Linked DNA regions of Homo sapiens: regions 2, 3 and 4 are each linked to region 1. The links are contacts of gene promoters, found by promoter capture Hi-C in blood cells and fetal thymus (Javierre and others, 2016). All regions are on one chromosome and are shown on one strand. Each heading gives the region's core, a stretch centred on a gene start or on the middle of the fragment in contact. The rest is flanking DNA. Distances are from core to core; before and after follow the strand shown.

Region 1 (3,951 bases), core at 1,199-3,698:
GGACTGAATTCCAGAGATGACATCCTTTGCTTCTGGCAAAAATCTAGCAGTCAATAGATGTACAGTAAACGTGTTGAATGAAAAGGTCTTTGTGAGATTTACATGTAGAATAAAAAGTTAGGTTAGAACCTCCTGCTAGAAACTCTCATAGTATCTTGTAAAACAGTTAAGATCTCAGGCTATGAAACCAGAATACCTGGGTTCAAACAGACTATCCCACTAACTAGCTTATGAGGCCTTGAGCAAAGTGTCCAATTTCTCTGTGCCTTAATCTTGTCATTTTGAAAAATAGGGATATTATTAGTTATGAAGAAAAATTAGTTAATGTATGTAAAACACTTGGTACAATGCCCATCTGGCATAGAAAGCACAATATGCTCACTGACCACTACTCTATTCTATCTCCTTTGTAGTACCTATACTTTTAATTACATAATTGTATGTGGATTTTTCTAATAGCTCTTTTCTACTAATCTGTATGTTCCTGAAGGCAGAGACAATGTCTGTTTTATTCCCTAGTGCATCTTTAGCACCTAGCACTGTGACTGACACATGCTCAGTATTTGGAGAAATAAGCAAATGAATGGCTTAATAAATAAAAGGGCAAGTCAAAAGGATCATTCAATGTCTAATATGTGAGCAGACCATGCATTTCTATCCAGGAAGGAGACTACATGCTGGATAGTTAATAATAAGGAAAACAGAAAAGGGCAACCCAGCAGAAAAGTACAGCCTCCTGCATTTCTCCGGACATTTAATAAGGGAGTGCAGAAACAGGCTGGGATTTTTCTCTGGCCAGGAAAACTGATGTGTCTTTTTTTTTGAGACGGAGTTTCACTCTTGTTGCCCAGGCTGGAGTGCAATGGCGTGCTCTCAGCTCACCGCAACCTCTGCCTCCCAGGTTCAAGCGATTGTCCTGCCTCAGCCTCCAGAGTAGCTGGGATTAGAGGTATGCGCCACCACGCCCGGCTAACTTTTTTGTATTTTTAGTAGAGACAGGGTTTCTCCATGTTGGTCAGGCTGGTCTCGAACTCCTGACCTCAGGTCATCTGCCCGCCTCAGCCTCCCAAAGTGCTGGGATTACAGGCGTGAGCCACCACGCCCAGCCTGATGCGCCCATTTTTAGGTTAGCAATTTCCATAAGCTGCAGAAGGAGCTGCTTCGGGTTATTCTTCTATCTGAGCTCTGGTTAACTAACCATGTCATTTATTCATTCATTTTTAAATGGGTAAAATATACATATATTTTTAAAAATACTATTTTCTGGCCGGGCGCAGTGGCTGACTCCTGTAATCCCAGCACTTTGGGAGGCCTATGTAGGTGGATCACTTGAGGTCAGGAGTTCGAGACCAGCCTGGCCAACATGGTGAAACCCCGTCTCTACTGAAAATACAAAAATCAGCGGGGCATGGTGGCAGGCGACCGTAATCCCAGCCACTCCAGAGGCTGAGGCAGGAGAATCACTTGAACCCAGAAGGTGGAGGTTGCAGTGAGCAGGGATCGCACCACTGCACTGCACTGCACTCCAGCCTGGGTGACAGAGTGAGACTCTGTTTAAAAAAAATTAAATAAATTTCCTGATGTGTGAAAATTATGTGAAATTCACATTTCAGTGTATCCATAACTAAAATTTTATTGGAATACAGCCCATCCATGCCCATTCACTACAGCTGTTTTGGACCTGTAAACAGCAGAGCTGAGTTGTCCGACAGAGACCGCCCCGCCCGCCGCCCCCCAACCACCCCCCCATTTTTCATAGAGAAAAATGAAGTAGGGAAGTGAGACAGAGAGTGAAAGGGTCTGCAATTTTCCATAAGTGGTCATGTCAGATCTCATTAAAAGGTGACATCTGAGCGAGCCCTTTCTGAAGGGTGTCACCTAACCCCAAGGGGCTCCTGGCCTCCGCCCAGGGAAGCTCTCCAGCTCTTACCGAAGTAGTCAAGCCAGTTCATCTCGCGCAGAGCCTTGGGGAGCCGCAGGATCTCGATGTTGTAGAGGTTATCCACCTCCTTGAGGAGGTTCTGCCTGTCTGACTCAATTTGCTTGATTCGTATTTCCACTGCGGGAGGGCAGAGCCGACAGGACACGGGTCACGGGCGGGCGAATCTGTGCAGCTCGTGTCCCCACCCGCCAGCATCCCGCGACCGCCCCAGGAGGCCGCGACGGCCTGGCCCCTTACCTTCACGGTCGAAGTCTTTCAGAAAGGAGGCGAGCTTCCGCCTCCGTAAGGAGTTGGTCTTGGCCACCCGACTACTGCCCTTCCTAGGAGCCATGGCGCTCGGCGGAGGCTGCGGGGAGCGGCGGAGATGGGGCAGGGAAGCAAGAAACTGGGTAGGGACGAGGAGGGCGGACGGGGACCACCCGAAGAAGTCGCCAGGCACGTACCTGCGGTCCCGAGACAAGGGCTGAGCAAAACCTCGCTGTGCCAGTGAGAGAGAGCGGCTCTACAGTCAACCGCCACCCAATTCAAACTCCACAGTCACAGGCTGACGAATGAGAAGCCGCCGTCCCACAACATCCAATCACAAGCAAGTTCCTGCCGGCCCAGGGTCTTCCGCCCAATGCGCCCCCTATAGCCTGAGTGCGACAGCGAGGCCGCCGCCGTCGCGGGTACTCCTGGGAGTTGTGGTCCAGGCTTGTTTCCCCGCCCTCCCCACCAACCCACCCGGCTCCGCCCTGGCCGGCTGCGAACTATACAAACTACTACTCCCGGCAGGCCTTGTGGCGGCTCTGCAATACCCCAAGCTCTGGAGGGCTGGGGGCCTACTAGGTCAGGTCGGCTGTAGGATTCTGCTCCAGGGTTGGCGGCTGCTTCTTTCTGGCCTGGCTGCCACTGAGTAGCCGAGGGGCCGCCGTGACCCTCTGACTGATTGACTGGCTGGCTGCCTACGTCGGCGCTCCTCAGGGCCCCAAGCTCCTCAGGCCGAACTTCGGGCAAGTGGCGGGTCGGCAGAGACAGAGCAGCCCCGGCAGGGTTTGACAGAGCAAGGGGGACGGAATGATAGAGGAGCAGGGCAGGGGTGCAGGCTTTGGGGGGGGCGCGCTATCCCGCGGCCAGTCTGGGCAGCGAGTGGGGGGAACCCTGTCGTTCCTCGCTCCCCCGCGGGCCGGCCACTCCCGCCCAGTTCGCGTGTTGGCGCCTCGACTGGGTGCGCAGCGCGGGGCTGCGACTTCAGGTGCAAGTAGTGGCGCTTGGCAGCTGGCCACACGGTGACTGCAGCATGAGCCGCGGCCACCAGGCTCCAGGGAGCCCAGGGCAGGAGGCAGCTCTGGGTGTCGTGGCCGTGGGCCTGGGAATGGGCGTGTAGACGGCGAGCCCCGCCGAGCCGCGGTCCTGTCGGAGGTGCTAACTGTGCATCTTGGTATCTGCCCACGGCCACAGGGTTGGATTGCTCAAGAGTTGTGCTGAGACCCAGAAGGCTAGAGGCTAGTTTCGAAGCTGTAGCTCAGGCTGAGTCTCAAGGCGGGCGGCGACTGGACGGCCAGACCGGCGAGCTCTTGACGGGTTTGTGGCCTGATTGTTTGGATTTGGTGCTTTTCACCTGTGGATGCGGTCTGAAGCCATGTCAGAGGGGTTGTGTTTAAGCGTGCATGTTATAGGCTATGGGAGTGATAATCTTGCCTCTCCCCCTCTGAGTTGAGGAACAATCGAAGAAATAAGCAAAGGTGCCAAGCAGGCTCCTGATGGGCACCAGCGAGCTTGGGGACAGAGCAGTCCAAGCATAGAAGTCCTGGCAAGCCTGGACCTTCCTGGAAAGTCCTTTCTCTCTCTTCCACCCTGGTCTGTTGCTCCATATGCAACAAATATTTGAATGTCGCTCTTCCGCCCGAGGTCAGCCCTGGGCAGTGGGTAGTGGGGGTGACACCCCAGTCTGCTGGGTGCCTGAGGATCTCCATCAGTCAGATGGCCAAGATGAGACGGGATGACAACCCGTACCTCATGTAGGCTTT
Region 2 (4,175 bases), core at 1,065-3,564, about 34 Mb after region 1:
GCAGGCCATGAAGCCACAATGCAATGCAGTTCACTTTTCAACCTTTGTAGTTTAAGTGGAAAACCTAATGCTTCTGACAAAACTGCCTGATTTAAATGTTCTCACTTGAAAAAAAAAATAATGATTTAAAAAGGAAATAAGACTCCCATTTATTTGCAAAGCACAGTACGGGCTGCTGGGTGCACCCTGCGCCCGAGCACCTGGGAGCCAGCCCTGGACTGCGCAGCCACCTGCGGGCGGAGAGGGGAGGGGCCAGGTGTCCTCGGCCTCTGATGTGGCTTCCACCCTGCGCCCTTTTCTGAAGACACACATCCTAGAGCCCAGAGAACTTGAGGGCTGGAGGGTTTAAGGCAAGGCTGGATTTCATTTCTATGTTGAAATTCTTAAGAACAGAACAGTGTGCCGAGCGCGGTGGCTCACGCCTGTAATCCCAGCATTTTGGGAGGCCGCAGCAGGCGGACCACGAGGTCAGGAGATCGAGATCATCCTAGCTAACACGGTGAAACCCCGTCTCTACTAAAAATACAAAAAAATTAGCCGGGTGTGGTGGCGGGAGCCTGTAGTCCCAGCTACTCGGGAGGCTGAGGCAGGAGAATGGCGTGAACCCGGGAGGCAGAGCTTGCAGTGAGCCGAGATTGCGTCACTCCACTCCAGCCTGGGCGACATAGCGAGACTCCCGTCAAAAAAAAAAAAGAAAAGAAAAGAACAGTGGGCCTGGCACGGTGGCTCACGCCTGTAATCCCAGCACTTTGGGAGGCCAAGGTGGGCGGATTATTTGAGGTCAGGAGTTCGAGACCAGCCTGACCAACATGATGAAACCCCATCTCTACTAAAAATACAAAAATTAGCCAGGTGTGGTGGCGCCTGCCTGTAATCCCAGCTACTCAGGAGGCTGAGGCAGGAGAATGGCTTGAGCCCATGAGGCGGAGGTTGCAGTGAGCTGAGATCGCGCCACTGCACTCCAGCCTGGGTGACAGAGCGAGACTCCGTCTCAAAAAACAAACAAACAAACAAAAAAACCCACAACAGAACAGTGGTCCTCAGCTTTACAAACACCTCCCTCAGCGGCGGCCAAAGAGGACGCATCACAGCAGCCCAGGCCTGCTAGGGGCGTGTTTGCTGGAGGAGGCGTGGCCGCCGTGTGTCCATCCAGACCTGATAGGGCGCGGCCATTGGAGGAGGCGTGGCCGCTGCGGGTCCACCCAGGCCTGCTAGGGGCGTGGCCATTGGAAAAGGCGTGGCCCCTGCGAGTCCACGTTGGCCCCGGAGAGTAACGGGACGGCGGAGGGGTCATTTCCCGCCTTGCACGTAACGGGGGACGAAAACCGGCCCCCAGCCCGACGCCGGACCCTGGCCTCCTGGGCCCACCGACGGCCTCCACTAAGGCCCCCTCCCGCCCGCAACGTGGGGGACAGCTGAGGCCACTTCCCGGGCGGGCCACCCCAACCCAAAGCGGCATGTCGCGGGGCAGCACAGCCTGCGACAAGCGCGCAAAGCTCCCCAGCGGGACCGCAGCACGGGCAGGCCTGGGAGTCCCTCGCGCTGCTCAAGGCCGCTAACCGGCACTCAGAAACCAGCGCTCTGCGGCACTGGAGAAAGCACTTCCCGCCCTCCTGCAGGCTGTTAGCCAGGGGATGCAAGGGGAGGGGCCCCTCACGGACGTCCCGCCCGCCCCTCTCAAACATGGCGGCCACAGGCGCACCAAAGGAAGAGCCCCTCACAAACATGGCCGTCCGCCCCTCTCATACATGGCGCCAAAGAGGCTTCAAGGGAAGCGCCCCTCACGAACATGGTTGCCTGCCCCTCTCAAACATAGCGGCCACAGGCGCACCAAGAGAAGCGCCCCTTACAAACATGGCCGTCTGCCCCTCTCAAACATGGTGGCCAAAGAGGCTTCAAGGGAAGAGCCCCTCAAGAACATGGTTGCTCCCCCCTCAAGAACATAGTTGCCCACCTCGCTCAAACATGGCGGCCACAGGTGCACCAAGGGAAGCGCCGTTCACGAACATGGCCGTCTGCCCCTTTCAAATATGGCGAACACAGAAGCTACAAAAAAAGCACCCCCCGCAAACATAATCTCTCAGGCCTGCCACGGGCGTGGGAAACATAGCGGCTACAGGGGTGCCAAGGGACGCGCCCTCATGAACATGGCCGGCCACAGGCCGACTTCCTGCTCCAGTGTCCCACCACTGGCCCAAGGCCTGTGACCTTCGCCCGCCGCTTACGAAAGAGCCAACACGGGGGGGGGGGGGGGGGGAATCACATGACGAGGGTGCTGCACTGTGATTGGCTGTGCTGACGTCGGACGCCGCCGCGGCGCGCTCTGCAGACTCCGGGTCGCCGCTCCGCCGGGACGCGTTGGCCGGGGCGCGCGGTGCTTGGCTGCGGTGCTCACACTCATGAGGAGCCGGAAGGTGAGGGCTGGGTCCCGGCAGCAGCTGCGCCGGGCAGGGCGGGGACTCTGGGTCACCTGCTGTCTGGAGAACCGGGGCGGGGTCACGGGGTGCCTGTGGCCTAGGAGCGGCCTCCGCTTGGGCCTCGCCCCCGGCAGTAGTTGGGGGGCTCCAGGCCACGCTCCCGGGAGAAGGAGGGCTGCCAGGTCACGCCCCTGTGAAAAGGGGGCTCCGGGCCACGCCCTCGGAAGAAGTGGAGCTCACAGGTCACGTCCCCGGGAGAAGGGGGCTCCCAGGTTACCCACCCCCGCAGAATGGGGCCTCTGGGCCACACCCCCGAGAGAAGGGGAGCTCCCAGGCCATGCCCGCGGGAGAAGGGGGGCTCCGGTCCACGCCCTCGGGAGAAGTGGAGCTCACAGTTCACGTCCTGGGCAACAGGGGGCTCCCAGGTCACGCCCCCTTGAAGGGAGGTTTCGGGCCACTTTCCTAGGAAGGTGGGGCACCCTCTCCAGAACTGGTTTCAACTCCTGGTAGTGCTAGATGCTGCAGAGCTGAGTTTGTGCCCCTCAACTGCTGCCACTCCAATGGACGTCACACAGCAAGTGACCTCAGCTTGGCCCCATCTACTGAATGTGCTAAAAGTGGGGTGATGAGGGATCCACCAAGAGGGTGGTGAGGATTGAAGGGGGGTGCCAGTGTCTGGCAAGGGGCAAGTGCTCATTGCGTGGGTGTAACAGTTAAGGCGAAGGACCCTTTTCACAGTGGACCCGGCGCGGGTCCCGGTCCACTTGGGAGGCTCTGAGCTGCATGGAGGCTCTCCTGGTTTGTTCAAATGGAGTGGCCACTTGTGAATTCCAACTCCTTTTACTATTTTTATCTTTGAACCAAAACTTGTCTCCTGTAGGCACATATACTTGGATCTTTTTTAAAATGCAGTCTGGTAGTTTCTGCCTTTTGATTGAATTGTTTAGCCCATGCACATTTAATATTATTGATACACTGTAGTTAGGTTTACATTTGCCATTTTACTTTTTCTTTTCTTTATACAAGTCTGTCTTTTTCTTCCCCTGTTCCTTCTTTAAGTGGATTAAAGTGAATATTTCCTAATGTAGCATTTTAATTTAATGATTTTTTTTCCACAACTTTTTTGGGTTTTTTCCAGTGCTTTATGTTTTACCGTATACAGCTTAATCTTCATATTCTCCATATACATCTTAAGCTTCAGATTTGTACTAGGTTAATTCCAAGTGATACAGAAATGTTACTCTTATATGGTTATTTTTGTGGTATTTTGTTATATGTATTACATCTGATAATGTTACAAACTCAACAGTACTGTGTTATCATTATTACTTTCTGTCTGTGGTCATTTCCTTAGCCAGCAGGGGTTTGCTTTCACCCACTTTGTTTTGTTATTGGCAAATATAGTACATGTCTGTATATATTATACACATATTACTGTATACAATTGCTTTTTAAATTAAGAGAAGGAGGTAGAGGAATAGGCATTTAAACTATATAAGAACATAATTACCTTTACTGGTGCTGTTTTTGTGTGTGTGTGGTTTTGAATTACTGTCTGGGGTCACTTGCTTTCAGCCTGATGAACTTCTTTTAGTGTTTCTTGTAAAGTGAGTTTTGTTGTTGTTGTTGTTGTTGTTGTTGTTGTTGTTGTTTTTGCTTTGAGACCAGAGTCTCACTCTGTTGCCCAGGCTGGAGTGCAGAGGTGTGATCTCGGCCCACTGCAACCTCTGCCTCCCGGGTTCAAGTGATTCTCACCTC
Region 3 (4,169 bases), core at 1,666-4,165, about 20 Mb after region 1:
TTGAACCTGGGAGGTGGAGGTTGCCACCACTGCACTCCAGCCCGGGTGACAGTGCGAGACCCCACCTCAAAAGAAAAAAAAAAATGAATTATACTTCTGAGGCTGTGCACAGTGGCTCACCCCTATAATCCCGCAACTTTGGGAGGCTGAGGTGGGAGGACCACTCGAGACCAGCCTGGGCAACAGAGAGAGACCTTGTCTCTACAAAACATTAAAAAAGAAAAAAAATTTAGCCAAGTGTAGCTGTCCATGCCTGTGGTCTCAGCTACTTGGGAGGCTGAAGCGAGAGGATCGCTTGAGCAAGGAAGGTAGAGGCTGCAGTAAGCTGGGATCATACCATCACCCTTCAGCCTGGGTGCTGGAGGAGCAAGATTCTATCTAAAAAAATAAAAAAAAAAAAAAAAAAAAGAAAGAAAAAATCACACCTCACCCCTGGAAAAGAACTTAAGCGTAGCTGAATCTAACTTGCAATATGATTTTGCTGAAGATGAGGTTAAAGAGTGACGGCAGGCTGGCACTTGCAGCCACATTTCCAAAATTCTGGGTGTAAAATGCTCAGCACAGTGCCAGACACCTGTGCCTCAAAGTGTCAGAGAAATCTCAGCCACCTTCTTTCCCTTCCCCTCTCCCGGTTTTGCACCAAACCATCCTGTCCCTGGAGAATTTGCTCAATTAGAAGCGAGGTGAAATTCCAAGCACAGTTTGAAGGAGGAAGTGTCATTTTCAGCTTGCCTGTAGGTGCACCTCACTATGTAACATTTGTTACATAAGTGGCAGCATGACACGCCTAACTGATGAATGTCTGTTGCACACCCAATTCCAGCCGGGAGAGTCACGCAGGCTTTCCCTGGGAGAATAGTGGTGTGGAATTGAGGCATGGAGTTGCAAAAATTACTTTTGTCTTCTGACAAGTAGGGCCAGTTCCAGGGTGTTATACCCAAAGTGCTTTTCTACTGCAGCATAACCTCAAGAAAAACCAGTTTCAGGAGCACCACACCTAGGATCAGATGATGCAATATGATATTAGCGTCTCATTGCATCAGTGTGTCTGAGGCATGAGTCTTTTAAGCTGGCAAAAAGCATTATAAAGGGGCAGGAGAAAAAAGGAAAAGACTTGCAGACTGAAATCTAAAGGTACTGTCAGTGGTGTTCCTAATTGGCCACACAGGGTGTTTAGAGGATAAACACCCAGCCACCCGCCTCGGCTGACAAGCATCAGCATGCCATTTCCTGAAGGGGACTTGATGGCATATTTAGGCGAAATTCTTTTCTGGTTGGTTCTACTTATGCTTTATATCAAAGCGTCAAAGTTTAACCTCTAAAAAATCTTTTTAAATGCAGGTCTATTAAGAATAGGCTTTCAAAGGGTGCTTCTATTCCATCTTGACTTTTCTGAAAATCTCTGAAACGTACCAGTTGATTTCTCATTTCCAAAGTTCTTTTACATAAGCACTCTCAGCTCTCTTGACACACAGACTTTTGACTTTGATCAAATACCTTAGATTTGGGCCTCTTGGTTTCTCTGTCTTCCTTTACAGGACACTTGATGCTTCCCAGTCCTGTTTCTTGCACTAACAATGAATGAATGAATCACAAAAATCCTAGAACTTTATGCGTTTTCAAGAAGTTGCCTGAAGAAGGAACTTCCTTGTGCGGTACGCCTCAGGAAAAAAGAAGCAGGAGAAAAGCTTTGAGAGGAGAGCAAGTGACGGTGAGATCGTAATGGAAGTGGGGTGGAGAGGTGGAGGGTGGAGACCGGTAGGAAGCAAGCAAGGCTTTTTTCACCCGTCCCAGGACACGCGAACGAGATCAAGCCTCACTGCGGTTCACTAGGGTCTATGCAGGCCCTCGCACCCCTGCCTACCTCCTCAGAACCCAGCCTCTTGGCTCTTCTCACCCCAGCCCCACCAGACAGCTTCCCTCCCAGGAGGTGTCTCTCAAGATCTCGAAATGTGGAGCGTCCCGTTCACTCCACCTGGCCTGGAATACTTTTCCTGCCCCCTTTCATCGGGTCTTATTCATCCTTTAAGTTGTTCAGCATAACTTTCCACCTGAATGCCTTCCCTGGCCCTGGACTAGGATAAATCCCCTCGCCATAATGTTCCTACACAGGCATCACTTTGTAAAGCTTACCACTGTTGTAATTACTTGTTTACTGATCTGTCTTTCCGTTAGGCTGTGCGTTCCACTGGGGTGGAAACCTTGTTCACTGGCTCTGCAGCCCCGGGCACTGTGGGTCTTGCATGTACCGGGGGCTCAGTAAATATTTGGCAAAAAATGAAAAAGTTCCCCTCAAAGCCAGCTTCCAGTGCCTCCACGGCCCTCAAATTAATTATGAATTAATTCACTAATACAGCAAACCTTTATGTGATTCTTCCGTGTCACAGCACCTTGTTACATACTGAGGACACATCCACAGGCAAATAAAACTCAGCTTCTCTCTGCACAGGAAAAAATTATTCAAATTGTATTCATCTTTCATTCCAATCACTCAATTAGGGCACGTCCCTTGTTGGCTGCTGCGTGAGCGAAGTAACTATTTTCCAGCGAGTGTCCTCATGTGACCTGTCTAGACGTGCCCAGGAAAAACAATCCAACATCCTCCTAAGCCGCAAAGAAGTCCCTGACGCGCAGGCCGCACTGCGTGGAAGGCCCAAAGCGCGCTCGCGGGCCCGCGAAAGGCGCAGGAGCAGCGGAGCCGAGGCGGGCGGCGAGGCGCGCGGCGCGCGGCGCAGGCTCGGGTGGGCAGGGCAGGGCCAGGCCGGGCGGGGCGGGGGCGCCGGCAACGGGTCCGCCGGCCGGCAGGGGGCGCGCGCGCCCCGCGCCCCGCGCCTCCCGCCCCGCCGCGCGCTCGCTTGCCGCGCGGCCGCACATGTGTTTCTGTTTTGTGTTGTAGCATTTGTTCTGGAAGCTCGTATTTACATTTTAAGTGTATCTGGTGAGTGGGCTGGAGCCCTCGTCTGGGCCGGAAAAAAAAAAGCCCTCCGATCCGTCTTTTAGTTGCTTCTCTTCCTTTTTTCTCTCCGGTTTCTCATCACTCCAACCAGGTAGGGTCTGAAAATCGACAGTGATCAGTTTGTGGGGTCTGGGAAAGTTTTTTTTTTTTTCCTTTTTTTAAAGAGAAAAGGTTAAAAAAAAACCTGGGGGAGGGGGGCTGGGTGATTGAAGGAATAAAAAGAGGAAGGAAGGCGGATCCACGTGGTTTAATCGGAGACAGACAGAGATCCCATTGTTCAAAATCAATTAAAAAAAAAAAAAAAAGCAGACAGGGGAGAGCGCAGGGACGCCGGGGAGCTGGCGGCGGCCCTGGACACTTTGCAGTCGAATCGGAGACCGGCCGGGCCGCACGGCCGGCAAGGGGGCTGGGAGAGAGTTGGGCACCATTAAAGTTTTTATTTTTCGTGTCTGTGCGAGCAGGTGTTTGGGGCTGGGGTCCAGCTTTCTTCGGGCTCTTCCCCCGTCGCCGGGGGCAGTCCGCCGTAGGGATTCGGCTAACTAGAGCCCGAGGTCGGCACCCCTGAGCTGGGGCCGAACGGGGGTCCAGGGCTGATGCGGGGTGGGGGAGAGCGTTGCATTAAATGCCATGAGTGGGTTTGGGGGGAGACTGCGGAGACAAAAGCAGCAGGTGGGGTAGCCGGGGAGCAGGGGCTCCCTTACCACCCAGGTGCCAAGGGGGAATCCTGGAAGTGTCCCGAAGCCTTCTTTAATGAAAATCTAGGGGACTGGAGGCTGGTTTTACTTTCCCTTTACTTTTGGGGGGCGAGGTTGCAACTGTGATGCTTTGTGGGCAAACCTAACTTACGGATAGGCCGGGGGTCTCAATTCTCCCTCCAGGGGATTGCCTCTGGGGCTCCCGGCTGCCCTGCGGGATTCCCCGAAGGAGCCGCGCCGGGGCCAGGGAGGGGCGCGATTTCCTCTCCCAACTCGCCCCCTCTCCGCCCACCCTGCGGCCGCCACTTTGGGGAGGGCAGAGGAGGAAGTGGAGGCCGGGTGGCTCGTCTCCGCTCCCCTCCCCCCGCGCAGTTTATAACCCGTCCATTGTGCGCCGCTGCCCCGTGTCTCCCTCCAGCCGCGACCATGCCCAGGAAGAAGGCGGCGGCGGCGGCCTGGGAGGAGCCGAGCTCGGGCAACGGCACTGCCCGCGCCGGGCCCAGGAAACGCGGCGGCCC
Region 4 (3,811 bases), core at 416-2,915, about 20 Mb after region 1:
TTGGTGACTCCCGGCCTCTGCCTCCAGCGGGGCATATTGGCGTTTGTCCCCACCCTTTGTCGCTGGTCCTCTGGCTAGCTTTTAGTCCATATGACTGCATTTTTATTTTGGGCTGTTTGAACCGTTTTTTGTGATTTCATGAGCTGCTGTACCAAAGTCCAAATATATTAACATCTGTTGTCTTCCCTGCACATGGCTAATTTTGTAATTCTGTTGAAAAAAGCTAAAGTGTGTCTGGCCCAAATTTATACTTTATAGTCTCTTGATGACATGCTGACATTGCCACAGTTTTTGTTTTCTCCCGGTTGGCATAGATGTGTGTCCCTTCCCCCAGAGCACCCCTCCTACTTTGTGTTCCAACACTGAACACAGCCTTTTATGTCAGTGTTCCAAACTTAAAATACCTCAGTTCTGATCTCTCGCTGAGCTTCACTTGCGTGGTGGCTCTGAAAGCGCCCTCAGTTCTGACCCTGTGGGCAGGGACAATGTATGTCCCGCCATCAAGACGTGTGATCCCCGAGCAGACAGTGCAGTTGGTGAGGACAGGGTTGGAAGGTGTCACAGGCCCACTGCTCGCCACTCTAGAAGGCAGGGGGCGGCGTCTGGTGTGAGTAGAGTACCACGGGAGGGTGGCTGACGCATTGCTCATGTGGGGTCTCCATCTGTGGCCCGCTCACCCTGTCCTGCCGCATCTCAGTCCACTGAGACTTGCACTTGTTGCTCTGTATTCACATGCCTTTCACATGAACTTGGGCAGCTCCCATTGGAAGCTGGTGTATCTGCCTCTCCTGCTCGAGTGCCAGTGCTGGCCCTTCAGCCCGCCGTTCTTTAATTAGAGCGAGTCAGAGGCTGGTTTCCCTTCGTCGCAATTCCTTCTGTAGTCAGAGGCTGCTCCTGCAAGCCTTCTCCAGGACAGCTGGAACTCATCTTAATGGCTCTGCTGTCTGCCTTTATCACAACCTAAGGGTGAAAAGTTCATTGCTGGAGAAGGTTGCAAAACCCCCTAGAATTGCCCTGACTTCTCACCACTGTAAGATCTCCGTCAGTTTCCCCACGTCAGGTTACATGTGTGGTTTTTCTCTTATCGGGAGGGATCCGAGAGTGGCCGGTTGAATTTTTGTTTTGGAACTTGGTAGTTTGTGTTGAAACCTAGATGCGGTGTAGGGGCTCCCAGCCCTCCTTTTGGCCCACCCAACTTCCACGTCTGTTTGGAGTTGAATTTGGTTCTGCAGAGGACTTGGGGGTAGGGGTTGGCCCTCAGGCCTGCCTTCCGCTGGAATTCACAGATACAGGGCCTTGGTCGCACCTGCAGCAGTCCTGGAGGTGGGGCTGGGCGTGTTGTGTTGAGGGTGGATCTGTGCTTTGTCACCAGGGTTCCTGTGGCTGAGAGTCCTTGAGGGGCGATCCCTAGGGGTGGGATTGGCACTGTTATGTGAGCACCATTTACAGGGTAGAAAAAGGAAGAGAAATATTGGGCAGACACCAAATGGTCCTCAGTGGATGCCCAGAGCACCAAAGTGATTAAACTCTGGTGAGCCAGGTGTCAAAATGGGGTGCTGTCTTAAAATACATCTCAGAGGGTAGGGACGGGGTGGTTGTCTTGCAGGCACTCTAAGTGGGAACGGCGTGTTTCTGCGAGCATGCCCGCCTGTGCATGGTGTCCCTACCACACTGAGCCTCTCATTTCCCTTTGTAGCAGAGACGTGGGAGGTGTGCACGGGTGGTCCCGCTGCTGCCCCAGGGAAGGAGGTCCGGGGAGCTGCAGCAGGCGCCATTCCAGCGGGCAGAGGGCCGGGGCGTTCTTTGCTCTGGATCTTGGCTGTTGGGAATTTGGAGGGTACCTTCCAGAGACAGATGGGCATCATTTGAGAGTGTGTTTGTACTCGCCTTCTCCTGGTGGTGCCGCCTGGACCACCCTCTCTCTTTTCTACTTTCTCTCATGTGATCTGCAGGTCGAAATGAGAAGGGGCAGCTGGGACATGGTGACACCAAGAGAGTAGAAGCCCCTAGACTCATCGAGGGTCTTAGCCACGAAGTGATTGTGTCTGCAGCATGTGGGCGGAACCACACCTTGGCCTTGACGGGTAAGGAGGTGGCTGCTGGTGTCTCCTCTCAGTTTGGCAAGAGGCCAGGTGGTCTGCCTTGGGGATGGGGCGTGGGGTGGTGGAGTTCCCCTTGTGACTCTTGGTCAGGATCAGAAAGAGGCCCTGAGAACCTTGGCATGGAGTGGCTTCTTGAGGGCATTGGGAGCCTCCCCAGTGGCCATAGGAGGCCCATCTGGGAGTAGGAGACGCTGCCCTCTGTTTCTCTGCACACCCAGTTTCTGATGTGAAATGGCTTTGCTGTGAAGCGTCTGCACTGCCAGCTTTTGGGCAGTCTCACTTGCCTTCTGCCTGGCAAATGAGCTGTTTTTATTATTTTGATGCCTTTGATTCTAAATCTAGTTCAAAACATTCACCATTATCTTCCCTTTTGTGATATTTTTCCTTTCTTCCAGAAACGGGCTCCGTGTTTGCGTTTGGGGAAAACAAGATGGGGCAGCTGGGCCTTGGCAACCAGACAGACGCTGTTCCCAGCCCCGCGCAGGTGACCCCTCCTCAGCTCCGGCTCCATGGCTTTTTGTTTCTCTTTACTTTTGTGTTTGATTTTCTAAGGTGGGGTCTCCGTTTGAGTTAATTTACCCCTTGTAAAAACAGGGTCTGGATGTTTAGTTACATGCTGTAGAGTTTTTTTGTTTGTTTTTTTGTTTTTTGTTTTTTTTTGAGAACGGAGTTTCACTCTTTTTGCCCAGGCTGGAGTGCAATGGCGCAATCTCGGCTCACTGCAACCTCCGCCTCCCGGGTTCAAGTGATTCCCCGGCCTCAGCCTCTGGAGTAGCTGGGATTACAGGCATGTGCCACCACACCTGGCTAATTTTGTATTTTTAGTAGAGACGGGGTTTCTCCATGTTGGTCAGGCTGGTCTGGAACTCCTGACCTCAGGTGATCCACCCACCTCGGCCTCCCAAAGTACTGGGATTACAGGTGTGAGCCACTGCACACAGCCTTGCTATAGTTTTTAAAACAGGCTTAGTTTGTGGTCGGGTTGAAAACCATCCTGAAAACATTTTGTTTCCAAATGGAGAAATCTGTTAGAAATGCCTTGTCGTAAGCCTGTTCTGTTCCAAAGAAAGTGAGTGATGTTATATGGATGTAATTGTACTTCCCCCAAATACTTTGTTTTGACCTTGTATAAAGTCACCAGCCAGATGCTTAGAATACAAATACGAGATAGGCAGTCTTTTTTTTTTGGAGGGGAGACAGAGTCTCGCTCTGTTGCCAGGCTAGAGTGCAGTGGCGCGATCTCAGCTCACTGCAACCTCTGCCTCCCGGATTCAAGCGATTCTCCTGCCTCAGCCTCCCGAGTAGCTGGGACTACAGGCATGCTCCACCACGCCTGGCTAATTTTTGTATTTTTAGTAGAGATGGGGTTTCACCATGTTGGCCAGGATGGTCTCCATCTCTTGACTTCCTGATCTGCCTGCCTCGGCCTCCCAAAGTGCTGGGTGTGAGCCACCGCGCCCAGGAGATAGGCAGTCTTTTTTTTTCTAAGAAACTTGAGTTGGAGGGGTGAGATTTATACCTTAAAAACAAACTACTACTAAAGGCAGAAGAATGCTAAGTGCCTAATTAGTGGTCTAGGTGATGAAGGAAGGGAGGGACTTGGTTTTATTGATCTTAAAGAGACAGTGGCTAGGCTTTGAACTGCTCTGTGCTGGGAGGGTGGGGGTCTGAGGGTGCTTCTTTACATATCTTCTAAGCTTTGTGTTCTA

What was found. Contacts are between HindIII fragments. The CHiCAGO score rates a contact against its expected background, and 5 or more counts as called.
Region 2: a contact is called between the fragment with the promoter of C1orf174 here and the fragment with the promoter of CDCA8 in region 1, in 11 of 17 cell types (non-activated CD4 T cells, fetal thymus, naive CD4 T cells and 8 more). The highest score is 31.4, in non-activated CD4 T cells.
Region 3: a contact is called between the fragment with the promoter of RCC2 here and the fragment with the promoter of CDCA8 in region 1, in 2 of 17 cell types (naive CD8 T cells and non-activated CD4 T cells). The highest score is 5.6, in naive CD8 T cells.
Region 4: a fragment that was not itself captured here is called in contact with the fragment with the promoter of CDCA8 in region 1 in 1 of 17 cell types (non-activated CD4 T cells); the score reaches 6.1 in non-activated CD4 T cells.

What each region holds. Positions count from the first base shown.
Region 1 is chr1:37,691,013-37,694,963 of GRCh38, reverse strand. CDCA8 (cell division cycle associated 8) reads right to left here and starts at 2,448. Exons shown (of 10, transcript NM_001256875.2): 1 at 2,180-2,448; 2 at 1,931-2,059. The coding sequence starts at 2,273. It also overlaps a transcript of AIRIM not described here. RefSeq lists enhancers at 1,667-2,175, 2,176-2,686, 2,725-2,914, 2,687-3,196, 3,197-3,707 and silencers at 3,145-3,314, 3,335-3,394. The HindIII fragment of the contact is 4,527 bases long and covers 1-3,951 here.
Region 2 is chr1:3,898,411-3,902,585 of GRCh38, reverse strand. It overlaps C1orf174 (chromosome 1 open reading frame 174), which reads left to right and starts at 2,314. Exons shown (of 4, transcript NM_207356.3): 1 at 2,314-2,414. The coding sequence starts at 2,400. It overlaps LINC01134 (long intergenic non-protein coding RNA 1134), which reads right to left and starts at 2,182. Exons shown (of 4, transcript NR_024455.1): 1 at 1,955-2,182. RefSeq lists silencers at 1,234-1,413, 2,494-2,563 and enhancers at 1,614-1,873, 1,513-2,082, 2,083-2,651, 2,652-3,222. The HindIII fragment of the contact is 4,148 bases long and covers 1-3,614 here.
Region 3 is chr1:17,438,423-17,442,591 of GRCh38, reverse strand. RCC2 (regulator of chromosome condensation 2) reads left to right here and starts at 2,915. Exons shown (of 13, transcript NM_018715.4): 1 at 2,915-3,047; 2 at 4,070-4,169. The coding sequence starts at 4,078. It overlaps LOC124903862 (a long non-coding RNA gene), which reads left to right and starts at 1,049. Exons shown (of 2, transcript XR_007065508.1): 1 at 1,049-1,134; 2 at 1,539-2,456. RefSeq lists silencers at 2,676-2,815, 4,135-4,169. The HindIII fragment of the contact is 15,202 bases long and covers 2,131-4,169 here.
Region 4 is chr1:17,420,978-17,424,788 of GRCh38, reverse strand. It overlaps RCC2 (regulator of chromosome condensation 2), which reads left to right. Exons shown (of 13, transcript NM_018715.4): 5 at 1,953-2,084; 6 at 2,498-2,586. Among named protein-coding and RNA genes, the nearest start is that of RCC2, 17 kb to the left of the region's middle. RefSeq lists an enhancer at 1,984-2,738. The HindIII fragment of the contact is 4,272 bases long and covers 1-3,801 here.